Regions from separate parts of the Homo sapiens genome. Here regions 1 and 3 are each linked to region 2. Evidence: promoter capture Hi-C in human tissues and cell types (Jung and others, 2019). All regions are on one chromosome and are shown on one strand. Each heading gives the region's core, a stretch centred on a gene start or on the middle of the fragment in contact. The rest is flanking DNA. Distances are from core to core; before and after follow the strand shown.

Region 1 (3,658 bases), core at 402-2,901, 270 kb before region 2:
ACAAAAATTAGCCTGGTGTGGTGGCACGTGCCTGCAGTCCCAGATACTTGGGGGTCTGAGGTGGGAGGTCACTGGGCCCGGGAGGTGAGGGCTGCAGTGAGATTGCACCACTGCACTCCAGCCCCAGAGACAAAGAGAGACCCTGTCTCAAAAACAAACAAACAAACAAACAAAACAAAAACAACAAAAACCTTTGTTTTTCAAATGATACCATCAAGAAAGTGAAAAAAGGGGCCAGGCGTGGTGGCTCATGCCTGTAATCCCAGCACTTTGGGAGGTGGGTGGATCACGAGGTCAGGAGATCAAGACCATCCTGGCTAACATGGTGAAACCCTGTTTCTACTAAAAACACAAAAAATTAGCTGGGCGTGGTGGCAGGTGCCTGTAGTCCCAGCTACTCGGGAGGCTGAGGCAGGAGAGTGGTGTGAACCCGGGAGGCGGAACTTGCAGTGAGCAGCAATCGTGCCACTGCACTCCAGCCTGGGCGACAGAGCGAGACTCTGTCTCAAAAAAAAAAAAAAAAAAAAAAAAGAAAGTGAAAAAAGGCTCAAAGTCATTAGTCATTAAGGAAATGCAAACCAAAACTACAATGAGACATTTCACAGTGGCTACAATAGCTAAAAGAAATCTAAAAAGGAAAGCAAGTAGTGTTGGCAAGGCCGTGGATAACTTTGAACCCTCATATTTGCTGGTGGGATGTGAAATGTAGGCCCTGGTCCTCTTTGTGCCCGCCTTCTGCACCGCTCGCTCACCCACGCCACGCCCGAGCCTCCGCTGCTCACCCTGCCCTGAATACCGACACCAACACCGTCTTCCCGGTGTGCTCCAGTGGCTCCTCCACACCTGATTTGCCCCACCTCCTGCCCACTCTGCAGCAGGCCCCATCCCTGGCCTCCCTTTCATCCTGCCAGACCGGGTCCACGGGATGAACCTGCTGCCCGCCTCCCTCTGTGCCTGCACCTCGGCACGGTGGGACGGAAGCCTGCTGTCCTCTGAGCTCTGTGGTTCACTCTGAATCCCTCTTCTGAAGCCTCAGATGAGCCCGGCAGTCCAACACGCTCCTTCCCACCTCTGCAGAAAGCCCCTGGGCCTCAGCTCCCCTGGCAACCTCAGCCAAGCACCGAAAATCTGGTACTGGGGGAGACCAATCCCCTGCCTTTCTCTCCCTGGGGTCCAGCCTCTCCTCCATCCTCTCCAGAGTGGCCTCCATCCGCCCCTGCAGTGGCCAGGCCTGTCTGCCCTGGGCCACAGCCTGGGCTCTGGGAAGCCCCAGCCTCCTGTCCCTGCCTCGGCTCTTCCCCACTGTCCTGCTGGCCTGCCGCCTGCCTCAGCCCTTCCCCACTGTCCTGCCCGCCTGCCTCGGCTCTTCCCCACCGTCCTCTCTGGACTCGCTTCCCACGGTGCACTCACCTCGAGGCCCTTGCGCTCTACCCTGACCTCTCCCTGTTTCTGAGGGCAGGGGTCTCCTGGGCTCCCACCAACACAGGCTGTGCTCCTTCGGAGCCACTGTGACTCCAGAGGACCACCTCCAAGCCTGCTCAGACCCCTCAGCTGTGTCCACACTGATCTACACCCTCCACCTGGGTCCCCCTAGGTCCACACACCCCACGCCCGCACGCAAATCCCCACATCTGCATCTCCCATCAGCAGAGAGAGCTGGGCGAGCCCCTCAGACACTGCTCTCAGGAACCACCACCTGCCAGGGGCTGGGCCAGTGAGGGGCAGGGTTGGAGGACCCAGAACCCTCTGAGGCTGAGCGCCAGGCTCTGCTGCCCAGAGAGACAAGAAAGTGCTCACTGGGGACAGCAGCGGTGGCTGCTACAGCCAAGGACGAGGCTCTGGCCACTCGCGGGGACACTGAGTCCCCTGGGTCCCCGCCCACCGCCCTCACCTGGCCCTGCCCACCATACCTGACCTACTCCTCACCTGGCCCCGCCCACCACCGTCACCAGTCCCGCTCTCACGTGGCCCCGCCCATTCCACTCACCTGGCCCCGCCCACCATACCCGACCTACTCCTAACCTGGCCCCGCCCACCACCTTCACCAGTCCCGCTCTCACCTGGCCCCGCCCACCACCCCCTACCTGCCTCACCTGGCCCCGCCCACTCCATTCACCTGGCCCCGCCCATAGCAGCTGCCCCCGCCCTCACCTGCCGCTGTCCTCCTTCACTGTCCCAAACGCCGCGGGCCGCCCGGCCCTCGCTGGCAACTCCTGCGCTTTCTCAGTGTCGGGCTCGGGCTCCAGGGAGGAGCTGGTGCTGCCCTCACGGCTGACGCTGCTGCCGCGCCCGGGGCTGCTCTCCGCCGAGGCGCGCGGGGACTCCGTGTTCTGCTTCAGCGTCTGCAGCTTGGCCAGCGGGATGATGTCGCAGCCCTGCGGCCGGTGCCACACCGTGCGCTGCGTGCTGGCATTGTAGTAGTAGAAGCGGGACGTGTTGGGGTCGAACAGCTCCCACCACTGGTTCTCGCTGGTGCGCTTGATGCGGACGCCGGCCGGCGGGTCCCACACGCACTCACCGGTGACCAGGTTGGCGTACATGCGCTCGCGGGTGCGCGGTTCGATGATCTCCACCCACTCCAACCTGGGGAGAGACAGGGTTAAGGCGGCTGGAGCCACGGCGGCCTGGGCCCGCGCCTCCCACCCCTGCAGACCCCGGCTCCAGCCCCAGCTGCGAAACCCAGAAATCCTGTCATAGAGGAAAGCAAACCCAAGCCCAGTCCGCCCCTGACTGCTGTGCTCCTGAGCACCCGCAACCGGGGAAGCCCCCGGAGCCGCCAGCGCCTCAGGGTGGTGCAGCCCTTTGGGGGGTCCTGGGCCCCACGTGGGGTAGGGACATACTGGCTGTGGTTGCAGGCTCCTGTCCTCACAGGCACCCAGGCCACAACCTCACTGCCCACTGCTCCGTCCTGCAGGATCGTGGCACAGGCCTGCGAGTCATCACTGCACACCTGCTCAGTAGCCCCTCCGCTGCAACTGGACCGCCACCTCCACACTGGGTCGGGGTCTGGAGGGGCCTCAGGCCCAGCTAAGTGCTGCTGGACTCCCAAGCTGTGTTCTCCCAAGGATCCCCCAGATCAGCAAGGCCAAGGGCCCAGCTGGCTCTCAGACCCCCGATGGGGGGCAGAGTCTCCACCCGGCCCTCAGACCCCCGCTGGGGGCACAGCCTCCAGCTCAGTAACGTTTCTGAGGCCTCTTCCATGTTTCTACACGGAAACAAAAACCCTTAGAGGCACCAAGAGCCTCTCAGCAAAGATGCTGCCAGGAGGCGTTCCCATGGACCCATGCATCCGTCTCTTAACCCTGCGACAGGCCTGGTCCTCGCCATCACCGGGCTGGTGAGGTGTCTCGTTAGCCCTGCGACAGGCCTGGTCCTCGCCATCACCGGGCTGGTGAGGGGTCTCGTTTCCAGGGAAAATGCACTAATCCCAGGGGCTCAACAGAAGGGGAGGCAAGTGGTGAGGGCAGAAGGGCCAGCGGACACCAGGCCCAGACACGGGCTAGTGGGGGCTGCCTGCGGCTCCCCCAGGTCAAGGACAGAAAGAGCCCCCCTGGCGGCCGGCGCAGACTGGCTGCGGGGGCGACCTTCATCCCACGTCCCACCCTTTGAAACCAGGCCAGGGACACGGCGGCTCTGAAAACAGGCTGTGATGCGCACC
Region 2 (3,599 bases), core at 588-3,087:
AGGTCCCCTAGTAGCCGGGCCATTGCTGCCACCTCTGGAGGAAGCTGGGCCCCCAAGAAACTCACTCGGCCACTGTGACTATCACCAGGATGATGCAGGTATGGAGTTGCAGCCCCCACAGCAGACATTGCTGCTGCTTCCTCTTTGATCAGCCAGCCCAGGAGGTCGGTCCCAGATGCAGATGCCTAGAGTGGGGTGGAGGAGAGAAGACCAGTGACTCTCACATCCTTTGGGCCAGCGAGTGAGGGTTGATATGGTCCCCATCATCAGCATGCTGACAGTGTGAACTACCAATGACAGTCAGTGCTGCGGAGATGGCCCTGGAAGCAGGTGGCAGAGGGGTCCATGTCAGTCCCAGGAGGAGCGGAGGCCTCCCAGAGGAAGTGACATCTAAGGCATGAAGGACAAGCAGGAATTGGCAGAGAAGTAGGGGGCAGGGAGGAGGACCAGGAAACAGCACAAGTTCTCCAAGTAAATTAATAGATGAAAGAATGAACTAGGGGAACGGTCCGGGGAACACAGGGACACTGCAGCTGGCGCCACAGACCACACTGAGACCATTTAACTATTCAATCTTGAATCCTTCACAACAGTGGGCAAGAAGAATTACCATTCTCACCTGACAGAGAGGGAGATAAGGCTCTAGGCCAGGTGCAGTGGCTCAAGCCTGAAATCTCAGCACTTTGTGAAGGTGAGGCCAGCGGATCGCTTGAGCCCAGGAGTTGGAGACCAACCTGGGCATCATAGCAAGACCCCGTTTCTACAAAAAATTTAAAAAACTAGCCAGGCGTGGTGGTGCACGTCTGTAGTCCCAGCTACTCAGAAGGCTGAGAGGACAGAGGATCCCTTGAGCCCAGGAAGTCGTGGCTGCAGTGAGACGAAATCGAGCCGCTGCACTCCAGCCTGGACAACAGAGATGCTGTGAGGAAGGAAGGAAGGAACGAACGAATGGAGGGAGGGGGGAGGGAGGGGAGGCAGGGAAGAAGAAAAGAAAAGTAAAAAGAAATCAAAGCTCTAAACACAGCTGCCAAAGTCAAGGACTGAAGCCTAGACCTGTCTATTCAGAAGTCCCAGCTGTTTCCACCACAGCCCCAACCCCCGGGCTGGAAGAGCTGAGCAACGGCTGGCAACAGAGGCAAGTGCGGCAACTAAAGAGGGTTCCGACGCACCTGAAGGAGCAGTGCAGCAGCACAAGCACCTGCTATGCCAGAGGAAACGCACGTGCCCACCTCAGCACACCAGGTACTGGAGCAGAGCTCAGCGGGGCACAGCTCCTGTCCTCGAGGCACTTGTCAGGCCACTCTGCACAGCGCTGGGGGAGCCCAGGAGCTCCCCACGGGCTTCACGGCGCCCCATTCTCCCTGGGAGTCAACGACCACCCACTGCCAACTCCTTCACCGTCCCGCCAGCACCAGGAGCTCCTTCCCACTCCAAAGAGCCATCCGGGAAGGCCTCCGAGCTGCCCGCTTCCGGTCGCGCGGCTTGGAAGGCCGGGTTCGCACCCTGACTCCGTACCCGCGGCTCTGATGGGGGCGCGGCGTCGCCCGTTCCGGGGCGCGGGGACCTTGGTGCACAGAGTCAAATTGGCACTCGGCCGTCGCCGCCCCCACGGTTCGGGGCCAACCTACCGGCGGGCGCTCCTCCGCGGAAAAGCCCCGCAGTATCCAGAGCTCTCCGAACACAGCGGCGAAGCAGCCTTTCCTAGGCCCACACCCCCAGCTCGGGAGGGAGACTCCATCCTACTCCACCCCACGCTCCCGCTGTCCGAGTCGCCCCCAGCACCTGGCGCCGGCAATCCCCGGCTGATGCAGCCAAAAGCGGGCCTGGTCCCCGGAAGCGCCCTGAGAGCCACTTCCGGGCCGCTCTAGGAAGGCAGCAATGACCGCCCCACTGTGGTCCGCTGGCCCGAGGGGCGGAGCCGAGGCCGCGCCAGGTCCCGCCCCCTCCCCGCCCGGGGGAATCGGGGGTCGCCGGCGGGGTCCCAGACCTCGTCTTAGACAGTTTTTTTTTTTTCTTTCCCCAAAGAAAAAGAAGGCGGTGTTGTGTTTCCGTTTCTGAGGTAGAAACTGCGGCCTGCGCCCGCGTCTCCCTCCCCGCCCGCGCAGAGTGAGGGTAAAGCGGGAGAACGCGTCCCGTGGTCTGGGGTCAGAATTCCAGTCACCTGAGGCTGAGGAGCTCGCTGGCTTTCGTCGGCGTCCGGGTGGGCGGCGGGGAAACCGCGAGACCTTGAGGATCAGCGCGGAGCGGAGCCGAGCGGGCGTCCCTGTCCCGTGTGGACGGTCTGCGCCTCCAGGGTTTTGAGAGCTGCCCCGTTTCCCCTCCTGTCGGGTGGCGTCCGGCGCGCGTGACTCGGTTCCGCTTTGGGCTGCTCTGTTGGGCCCTAGCGCAGGAGCTCGGTCCGAAACAATGGCCGAGCCATTTTATTTAACATGTACTTTACCATAGTTAAAAAATAATATGCCAAAATCATTGAATTGTACAAAATGGGTGAATTATATGGTATGTGAATTATAGCCCAATAAAACTTAAAAAAAAAAAAAAAACTCTGAAAAGGGAAACAACCTAATTAAATGGGCAGAAGATGTGAGTAGACATCAAGGAAGATACAAAGTGGGTAATGGGTACATGAAGCCTTCGGCATTGTTGGCTATTAGAGAAATGCGAATGGAAGCCACGGGGAGGTGCCATTTCATACCATTAGAAGGGTTATAATAAAAATGACAGGTTGGGTGCGGTGGCTCACGCCTGTAATCCCAGCACTTTGGGAGGCGGAGGTGGACAACCAGATCTCAGGAGAACTCTATCATGAGACCATAACTTAAGGGCATGGTACTAAACCATTCATGAAAAGCCACCCCCACGATCCAATCACTTCCCACCAGTCTCCACCTCCAGCATTGGGTATTACCTTTCAGCATGAGGTTTGGGCGGGGACACAGATGCAAACCACATCAGCCATACAATGGAATAGTGTTCAATAATAAATAGGAGTGGAGACTGGGTGCAGTGGCTCATGCCTACAATCCCAGTACTTTATGAGGACTAGGTGGGAGGACCACTTGAGGCTAGGAGTTCAAGACCAGCCTGGGCGACATATCAAGGCTTCATTTTTACAAAATTAAAAAAAAAAACAGGTGTGGTGGTGTGCACCTATAGCAGGGGTCCCCAACCCTCAGGCTGTGGACCGCTACAGGTCAGTGGCCTGTTAGGAACTGACCTCACAGCAGGAGGTGAGGGCAACCTATAGTCCCAGCTATTTGAGAGGCAGAGTGAGGACCACTTCAGTTCAGGAATTTGAGACCAGCCTGGGGAACATGGCAAGACTCCATTTCTAAGACAAAACAAATCAAGTCTAAAAACCATGCTGAGGGAGGATTGTTTAAAGGGAATGGATCTGGGAAGTTTAGAAAGAGACTGCATCTGTAAGGTGTTATTTCTCTTTAAAATATCTGAAGCAAAAAGGTGAAGTGCTATCACTTGTGAGGTCTGGGCGGTGGTTACGTGGCAGACCCACCCCCTCCTGAAGTGAGGAGAGCCAGGAACCTGGGGGTGAGTTTTGGAGACAGTTCCCACCCAAAGGCCAGAGTGCCTGGAGTGCC
Region 3 (3,586 bases), core at 1,072-3,571, 290 kb before region 2:
TGGAATATCTACATATACATATACATAATGAGGTATCTTGGGAGTAGGACCCAAGTCTAAATACAAAATTCATTTATGTTTCATATATACCTTATCCACATAGCCTGAAGGCAATTTTATAGAATATGTTTAATAATTCTGTGCATGAAACAAAGTTTTGACTGTGTTTTAATGGCAACCTATCACCTGAGGTCAGACGTGGAAGTTTCCACTTGTGGCATCACGTTGACACTCAAAACGTTCCAGATCATGGAGCACTTTGAATTTTGTGTGCTTGGCCTGTGGTAGACAGCACTAATATCTATTACAAGTGTTTATTTTCTTTTATGTAATTATACATATCTTCTATGACTAATGTACATTGCTTCTCAAATAAAAAGGTCATTTTAAAAATGTTTTAAAATCAGTTGTATCAACAAATGGCAAACTTGCCGGGCACAGTGACTCACGCCTGTAATTCCAACACTTTGGGAGGCCAAGGTGAGTGGATCACTTGAGGTCAGGAGTTTGAGACCAGCCTGGCCAACATGGTGAAACCCCCGTCTCTACTAAAAATACAATAAGTAGCCGGGTGTGGTGGCGCGTGCCTATAATCCCAGCTACTTGGGAGGCTGAGGCAGGAGAATCGCTTGAACCCAAGAGGCAGAGGTTGCAGTGAGCTGGGATCTTGCCATTGCACTCCAGCCTGGGCAACAAAACGAGACTCCGTCTCAAAAAAACAAAACAAAATAAAAAAACAAATGGCAAACGTTAAAGTTGGCTGGTGGTCAATATCTTCAAACACATAATTACGGTACAGAACAAAAAGCTAGAAATATGGAATATGCCGAGATGGAAAACCATATAGGCAAAGACATCTATAAGATTGCTGTATCTGTATCTAACCCTCCTACCATTTCTGACTCGTCACCAAAAGATGACTGGGGTCCTGCAAGTGGGCCTTCAATGTTATGCTCTCGAGGACCAGCGGTGCGCGGGTTACTCTGTTACTGAGTTAGATGAATATCATGTTCCTGAGGCGGTGATGCTATGGCTGTGCTAAAGGAGCATGACGTCAACACTACTAGAGCAAGTACTCGTCACAACAGACTCAACTTACACAACTGTCAGAAACATTTTAAACAGAAACAGAAACTCTCAAGTGGAGTATTTCATCACGGCAGAATTACTTTACAAAAATAAAAATGACCCTTACACTAACGTATGTTCTAATGTGGCTCACTTGTTAGCCAAGCAAGGAAAACTGTTCACTGATGGGAAATTAATTACATTGTGTTGATTATGGCATCTAAAACTGTGTCGAGAGATGATAAACTTGCTTAAGACTATTAGCCTTTTGGCAAGAGCAGCTGCTTGAGGAGTTGAGGACAGTGAGAGCAACACAACAGCCCTAGGACCCCAGTGGTTTCCATTGCACCCCAGCGGTTTCCATCACACCCCAGTGGTTTCCATCGCACCCCAGCAGTTTCCATCGGACTCACCCCAGTGGTTTCCATCACACTCCAGTGGTTTCCATCACACTCCAGTGGTGTCCATCAGACCCCAGTGGTTTCCATCACACTCCAGTGGTTTCCATCACATTCCAGTGGTTTCCATCAGACCCCAGTGCTTTCCATCACATCCCAGTGGTTTCCATCGGGCCCCAGTGGTTTCCATCGGACTCACCCCAGTGGTGTCCATCACACTCCAGTGGTTTCCATCACACTCCAGTGGTGTCCATCACACTCCAGTGGTTTCCATCACACTCCAGTGGTTTCCATCACACTCCAGTGGTTTCCATCAGACTCCAGTGGTTTCCATCAGACCCCAGTGGTTTCCATCACACTCCAGTGGTTTCGATCGGACCCCAGTGGTTTCCATCGGACCCCAGTGGTTTCCATCGCGCTCCAGTGGTTTCCATCGGACCCCAGTGGTTTCCATCGCGCTCCAGTGGTTTCCATCGCGCTCCAGTGGTTTCCATCGCGCTCCAGTGGTTTCCATCACACTCCAGTGGTTTCCATCGGACTTAATCCAGTGGTTTCCATCGGACTTAATCCAGTGGTTTCCATCGGACTTACTCCAGTGGTTTCCATCGGACCCCAGTGCTTTCCATCACATCCCAGTGGTTTCCATCGGGCTCCAGTGGTTTCCATTGGACTCACCCCAGTGGTTTCCATCACACTCCAGTGGTTTCCATCGCACTCCAGTGGTTTCCATCACACTCCAGTGGTTTCCATCACACTCCAGTGGTTTCCATCGGACTCCAGTGGTTTCCATCGGACCCCAGTGGTTTCCATCACACTCCAGTGGTTTCCATCACACTCCAGTGGTTTCCATCGGACTTACTCCAGTGGTTTCCATCGGACTTACTCCAGTGGTTTCCATCGGACTTACTCCAGTGGTTTCCATCGGACTTACTCCAGTGGTTTCCATCGGACTTACTCCAGTGGTTTCCATCAGACCCCAGTGCTTTCCATCACATCCCAGTGGTTTCCATCGGGCTCCAGTGGTTTCCATTGGACTCACCCCAGTGGTTTCCATCACACTCCAGTGGTTTCCATCGTGCTCCAGTGGTTTCCATCGTGCTCCAGTGGTTTCCATCGGGCTCCAGTGGTTTCCATCACGCTCCAGTGGTTTCCATCACGCTCCAGTGGTTTCCATCGGACCCCAGTGGTTTCCATCGCGCTCCAGTGGTTTCCATCGCGCTCCAGTGGTTTCCATCGGACCCCAGTGGTTTCCATCGGACTCCAGTGGTTTCCATCGCACTCCAGTGGTTTCCATCGCACTCCAGTGGTTTCCATCGGACTCACTCCAGTGGTTTCCATCGGACTCCAGTGGTTTCCATCACACTCCAGTGGTTTCCATCACACTCCAGTGGTTTCCATTACACTCCAGTGGTTTCCATCGGACTCACTCCAGTGGTTTCCATCGGACCCCAGTGGTTACCATCGGACTCCAGTGGTTTCCATCGGACTCACTCCAGTGGTTTCCATCGGACTCCAGTGGTTTCCATCGGACTCACTCCAGTGGTTTCCATCGCACCCCAGTGGTTTCCATTGGACTCCAGTGGTTTCCATCGGACTCACTCCAGTGGTTTCCATCGGACTCCAGTGGTTTCCATCACACTCCAGTGGTTTCCATCGGACTCACTCCAGTGGTTTCCACAGACTAACTCCAGTGGTTTCCATCGGACTCCAGTGGTTTCCTTGGCTCTTGATGAGCTGACAGACGTTACTGGTACTGCTATGTTTGAAGGAGTCAATATTGAGCTTGAAGTGACCAAAGAATTAGCCTCTATCACTTGCTCTATGTGGAACAACTAGAACACACAGTATTTTCAAATAAGTTGTGAAAATACTAATTTTGTATGACCTGAAGTGGAATCTACTAAGATGAACTACAACTGATCATGCTAAGAATATATGTGGATCAGAAAAGGCTTACTTAGACAAACTTACAAAGCTTATGAAAACTGAAGATAATGTGAAAATATAAGCCTATGTTTATTGTGTTTTTCATTAGCAGCTACTTTGTGAAAAGTATTTGAATCTATTAGGAGTTACTGAAACAGTGGCATCAACACGAACTTCATGCACTCTCATGACTC

What was found. The method cuts DNA at HindIII sites, captures the fragments that hold promoters and counts their contacts. A contact is called where the count stands out against the background at its distance.
Region 1: a contact is called between a fragment that was not itself captured here and the fragment with the promoter of COMMD5 in region 2, in 2 of the 25 tissues and cell types used here (dorsolateral prefrontal cortex and lymphoblastoid cells).
Region 3: a contact is called between a fragment that was not itself captured here and the fragment with the promoter of COMMD5 in region 2, in 3 of the 25 tissues and cell types used here (dorsolateral prefrontal cortex, lymphoblastoid cells and spleen).

Annotation. Positions count from the first base shown.
Region 1 is chr8:144,578,695-144,582,352 of GRCh38, forward strand. It overlaps ARHGAP39 (Rho GTPase activating protein 39), which reads right to left. Exons shown (of 12, transcript NM_025251.3): 3 at 2,152-2,583. Among named protein-coding and RNA genes, the nearest start is that of C8orf82, 51 kb to the left of the region's middle. The HindIII fragment of the contact is 7,795 bases long and covers 1-3,658 here.
Region 2 is chr8:144,851,211-144,854,809 of GRCh38, forward strand. COMMD5 (COMM domain containing 5) reads right to left here and starts at 1,838. Exons shown (of 2, transcript NM_014066.4): 1 at 1,629-1,838; 2 at 1-185. The coding sequence starts at 128. RefSeq lists enhancers at 1,053-1,901, 1,479-1,808, 2,359-2,458 and a silencer at 1,879-2,068. The HindIII fragment of the contact is 6,847 bases long and covers 1-3,599 here.
Region 3 is chr8:144,559,723-144,563,308 of GRCh38, forward strand. The region is part of intron 3 of ARHGAP39 (Rho GTPase activating protein 39); the gene reads right to left. Among named protein-coding and RNA genes, the nearest start is that of C8orf82, 32 kb to the left of the region's middle. The HindIII fragment of the contact is 5,044 bases long and covers 1-3,586 here.